Linked DNA regions of Homo sapiens: region 1 is linked to region 2. Evidence: promoter capture Hi-C in 16 types of primary human blood cells and fetal thymus (Javierre and others, 2016). All regions are on one chromosome and are shown on one strand. Each heading gives the region's core, a stretch centred on a gene start or on the middle of the fragment in contact. The rest is flanking DNA. Distances are from core to core; before and after follow the strand shown. Region 1 overlaps OSMR-DT (OSMR divergent transcript). Region 2 holds the start of EGFLAM (EGF like, fibronectin type III and laminin G domains).

What was found. Contacts are between HindIII fragments. The CHiCAGO score rates a contact against its expected background, and 5 or more counts as called.
Region 1: a contact is called between a fragment that was not itself captured here and the fragment with the promoter of EGFLAM in region 2, in 1 of 17 cell types (M1 macrophages). The highest score is 5.3, in M1 macrophages.

The regions. Positions count from the first base shown.
Region 1 is chr5:38,838,192-38,840,891 of GRCh38, reverse strand. The region is part of intron 1 of OSMR-DT (OSMR divergent transcript); the gene reads left to right. Among named protein-coding and RNA genes, the nearest start is that of OSMR-DT, 6.3 kb to the left of the region's middle. The HindIII fragment of the contact is 379 bases long and covers 1,161-1,539 here.
Region 2 is chr5:38,257,276-38,259,998 of GRCh38, reverse strand. It overlaps EGFLAM (EGF like, fibronectin type III and laminin G domains), which reads right to left and starts at 1,440. Exons shown (of 22, transcript NM_152403.4): 1 at 1,148-1,440. The coding sequence starts at 1,244. LOC124900966 (a long non-coding RNA gene) reads left to right here and starts at 1,333. Exons shown (of 2, transcript XR_007058739.1): 1 at 1,333-1,405; 2 at 2,368-2,723. RefSeq lists an enhancer at 2,309-2,723. The HindIII fragment of the contact is 7,534 bases long and covers 1-2,723 here.

The sequences.
Region 1 (2,700 bases), core at 101-2,600, 580 kb before region 2:
TTTCAAAATCTCTTAAGTGATGAATAATATTATCCACAATAATTCTACAGGAATTCCTTGATTAAACTAGATATTATCTGAAAATTGATTGATTGATTGATGGATGGATTTTGCACATTCCACCCTCTTCCAGATGTTGTAATTGTGCTCACACCTTCTTCCAGAAGTCATCAGAAACCAGACAATGAGGAGAACCTCCCTGGATCTTTTACTTTTTTTCCCTCAGGGACTTTAGGGAAAATATTGAATATTGATAGCTGCTTTTATTCTCTTGGCCTGTGGTTATGGCACTTACTAAATTTGAGTGCAGTTGTTAATGCTAAAGTTTAGAACATTAATACAGTGAGAGAGAAATACTTTGGAGAGAATTAGATGGGAACTTTCTGGATATTTGAAAACTATTGGCTTAAGGTTGATCCGAAATAAGTCTATAGTTGTGTTTATATTTAAACTGAATCTCTTACAGAAAACATATAGTTGAGACTTTTTTTTAGAAGTTGACTGACAATCTCTGCATTTTAATTTGATAGAGAGTGTTTAGTAGACTTATATTTAAGGCAGTTATTGATATGCTTGTGTTTAGCCTACCATTTTACTATAGGTTTTGTGTTTTGTTCTCTCTGGTTTTGTTTTTTTATTCTTCTTTTTCTTCTTTTTTTTCTGGACTATATAAATACTTTTTATCTTTTTATATTTCCATTTTAATTTTTTTAGAGTTGGGGTCTCACTCCATTGCCCAGGCTGGTCTCAAACTCCTGACCTTAAGCGATCCTTCCGCCTCAGCCTCCCAAGTAGCTGATATTACAAGCATGAGCCACCATATCTGCCTTTGAACGCTTTTTAAATTTCATTTTTATTTGCCTTTGTCTTTTTCTTATTTCTCTTTGCATGATGTCTTAATGTTTTCTCTATGGATTACAGTGTACATTCTTAAATTTCACTGTGTACTTGAAATAGTATTGTACCTTTTCACTTAATAGGTCCATTTAACCACACACCCCATCCTTTACACTATAGTTGTAAAGTGTATTACATCTACAGACAAGATAAAACCCACAATATAGTATGTATTTTAAAGAAATTAAGAGGAAAACTACTCTTTTATATTTATACACATATTTACCTTTAATGTTCTTAAATCCTTCCCAAAGATCTAAGCTTCTCTCTGGTAGCATTTCTGTAAGCCTAACAAACTTACTTTAGTATATTTTTTATTGGAAGTCTATTGGAGATACATAGTATTAGTCTTATTTTATTTGAAAATATCTTTATTTCACTTCGTCCTCAAGGAATATTTTTGTTGGATAGAATTCTATTTTCTTTCAACTATTTAAAGATACTGTTCTACATTTTACTGCCTTTCATTGCTTCTGATGAGAAGTCAGCCATTATTTGATTCTTCTTTCCTCTGTCAATATAATGTGTCATTTTTTCTCTGGTTTAAATATTTTCTCATTATCTTTGATTGTCAATAGTTTATCAACTATGTGCTTAGAAGTTTTAAAATTATTATTTACCCTGCCTGGCATTTGCTAAGCTTCTTGAATTTATAAATTTATGTCTTTTACCAAATTGGAGAATTTTTCAGCCTGTATATCTTTTTAGTACCTTTTCTGCACCATTATCTTTCTTATCTTTTTGAAATTCCGACTACAAGTATGTCAGACCCCTTAATATAGTCCTAAATGCCCATGAGCCTCTGTTGTTTTTCAACTTTTTTTCTGTGCTCTTCAGATTCAATAATTTCTATTGAACTATCTTTAAGCTTACAAATTCCTTTTGTGTTATATTCGTTGGGCTATTATATCCATCTAGTAAATTTTGTGTCATATATATGGTATATTTCAGTTCTAGAATTTCAATCTGTTCTTTTAAAATATATTGTCTATTTCTATACTGGTTGTCCCTATTCTTTTTATTATTATGAACATATTTTCCTTTGCTTCATTGAGCATAGTTATTATAGTTGCTGCTTTTAAAACATTGCTTCATTATTCCAATATTTACATCATCTTTTAGTCAATCTCCACTGATTTTTTTCTTTTATAAGAATGGATTACATTTTCCTGTTTTTTTTATTTACCTATTTTTGGATTGTCAAATAATTTTGGAGTGCAACCTGTGCGTTATAAATATTATGTGATGAAGATTCTGTTCTATTCCTCCAATGACACTGATTATCTTTTAAAATGGCAAGCAGTGTGGTTAAACTCAAACTGCAAACCTGATATTGCTTACAGTAAGTAGAAGCTCAAATCTGAATTCACTTTTTAATGTTGACCAGGCTGCTTTGAGTTTGCCTTGCACAAGCATGGTTCAGAGATTATCCAATAATTGGTATTTATTTTAAATACAGAATTTGGGCTTCTTCCTCTCTTGCTCCCTCCTTTATGTTTTCCCGCCTCACTTTCCAAATAATGTTGTTGCTGTGAACCCTGACCCCTGGTTCTTCAAACTAGAAATATTGCATATTTTCTAACAGAGTTTTAGCTACCTCACATTGCACAGACATGCACTAGTCTTGGGCTGAGGGTCATAAAATTTGGGAAAGTTGCTCCATGCCTTTCCTCTGCCAAGTGTTGACTTTCCTCCACAATCTGCCTGGTGTTGGTCACTCTCCACTGCCGATAATTGTTTTTAATTTTTAACAATATTTTTCTAGTGTTTTATATTGTTATATGTTGGGGAGGGGCAGTCAAT
Region 2 (2,723 bases), core at 191-2,690:
GACACAGTGCAAAGACTGAGGACGCTTCCAGAGCCGAAATGCAACAAGTCATATTTCCAGATAGAGAGTTTCAATGCGAAAATATTTAAGCATTCACATGGGATCCCGCTAAGACGATTTTCTCTGCCCTCTGATAAATTTTCCTAGCTTTGCCTCTTTCTTACAGAAACGTTTGTGAAGACAAACTGCACTTTCTGTGAGGTTTTGCAGACTGCATTCAAATAAAAGTAATATTGTTTTCCATTGTTCATAAGATATAATTAATCCCATAAGACAACCTCCCTTACAAAGTAAGTTAAGACAAAACAGATTTTTCAGAATTCTAAATATGGTCCCAGCAAAAAGTAATAAAAATCGTTATTTGGGAAACAATGTTTAGAACTTCATTGTTCAGAATGTTCTACTTTGAATAATCTCACAGCATAGGCCAAATCAAAGTAGACCAAAATAAACGAAGACTTTTTACCTATATGCAGCTAGAGGAAACACACGTTATTATGGTTTCAAGTTCTCCCCCAATTCCCAGTCCCTTATAACAGGTTACAACGTACATTTCTTTGTTTAAATGCCAAAGCAAAGACAGGAGTTCAAAACACGGTAAAATTAACCCACTGGGTGCTTCCTTCTGAACAAATGGCCCCAGAGTGGAAGAGGATGCTAAGAGCAGAGTCCACATCCCTGCACAACGCGTGGGCAGGACCCGAGATGGGCAGAGGGGGCTCCAGGCAACCCTTCAGACACTTAACAGGAAATGGCTGGGCTCTGGACAATATGAATTGAGTAAAATGTTTGGAGACGCAGGAGGGGCTGGTTTGACTCCTCTGCATGGTTGCCATCCTCTGTAATTGAGACAGCACGATCGCTGTCCCAACTGTCAGCTCTCTGCGGTCAAACACGGGGACCACCACCTCTATCTACTATGTCTGGAAAATTGATCATTCTTTTAATAAATAAATATCCCTAGCGCCGCCCGGGCTCGGGGGAGGGCGAGGTTTGCGTCTTTTCTCAGCTCCTGGCAGAGCTGAAGCGAGTTAAGCAGACGTTGGTCGGGGAGAGGGAGGCGGTGCGCTGCCCGCTCTGTGTCCTCGCCCCGGAGCCCAGCAGGGGCGCTCGGGGCGTGGTGGCTCTGGGCGGAGGAGCGCATTACCTGGTTTTCGGATGGCCGCTCGGAGCGACACCGCGCCGGGTCCGAGGCTGGAAGCCAGGAGCAGGAGCCGGAGCAAGACGCCTCGGATTAAATCCATTTCGCAGCCGGCGCCTGCAAAGTTTCACCAAGTCCCGGGCGCACACGGAAAGGGCGTCTCCGGGGGCGCGTGGGGGACGCGGCCCCAACGGATCCCCGGGCCGGGGCGAGGAGGTGGGGGGCTGCGAGGGCTGGGCCCGGAAACACGGGTAGTTCCAAGAGGTAGGACTGCAGCCGGGAGGTCGGCGTGCGCGAGTGAAGCCGGCTGCAAGCTGCAGGGCTTTTCGCGGGGGCGGGGGCGACGAAGGAGGCCGACTGGGAGGGAAGGGCTGGCCGCGGGAGGGAGGGAGGCTCGACCGGCCCGGGGATGAAATTACAATCGAGTGGAAGTGAGAGGGACAGGCCCTGAAACCTTCACTCCTCGCCCACCTCGGAAGCAGACAGCCCGCCCCTCACCCTCTCTAGCGACCCCCAGCGCAGCCCTTCCCCGCTGGTGACCTAGATTGGGGACCTGGGAGGGACCGACTTCAAGCACTGGAGACGCAGGGCAGGAGTTAGGCGACTGCGGGTCCAGGACCCTCCGCGGTCCTCACCCTGAAATCTTGGGGCGCCCCCCCTCCACCCCACCTGGGCCCTCCTCCTGCCGCGCCCCTCTAGGCGACTTTTTCTAACACCTCAAAGGTTGCTGTAGTTGGTCCAGCGCACTTGGGGGATGCGAGGGGTAGACGGGGGTCTGTGATTTGCAAGTGGGGTGGGGGTGAGAGGAAGAGAGGCGGGACCGTCCGGGTCTGAGGCGCTAAGAAGATAAATGGGATTTAAGGCTCGCAGATGGAGAGCTGAGGCCAGGCCGCTCAGACTGGGACGCCGGGTGGAGATTAGGGCCTGGAGCGGGGGAGTGGGGGCCCTTCCCGGCAGAGGAAGGCAACTTGAGACCCTCCTGGGGAGGAGATGAAACTCCAAGTTAAGCCTGGCGTCTTAGGGAGGGACGCGAGCTCGAGCCCCCAGGCGGACCGAGAAAAGCCCCTGGGCGGCGCCCAGCTGGGCCTGGGGCAGGGGGCCGGGGCGGGGTCCTGGCCTCTGATCCCGGGATCGGGCTTCCTGGGTTGTCTCCTGAATGGAGAAAGACTCTTTCTCCGCCGCTGAATTTGCTGCCCTAGGACTCAGTAAAATGTACCTTTTGCCAGATTTCGCGGTAGTGCCTGGAGAGGGGAGACCCTGCCTGGGACACAAGTCCCGTTGCATACTGGCGTTCTGACCTCCAAACCAGCGAGAAGAGAAAGCAGATACAATAAATAAACCAAGAGGGAATAAACTTAGAGGCAAACGCGGCCCTCGGCAGTTCCTGGGGAAAGATCAAAGGCCGTAGGAAGTGCCCCGCAGAGGAAATCTGCAGTCACTAGCGACAGGACCGCGCCCGCCCCCTCCCCACCTTGCAACGCTGCCAGGACTCGGTGGGCGTCCTGGCTCTTCACAGTTAGCCTATGTTTGGGAGCGCGGGAGGAAACAATGTTGACTGATATATTCTTCTCCCCTCCCCAGC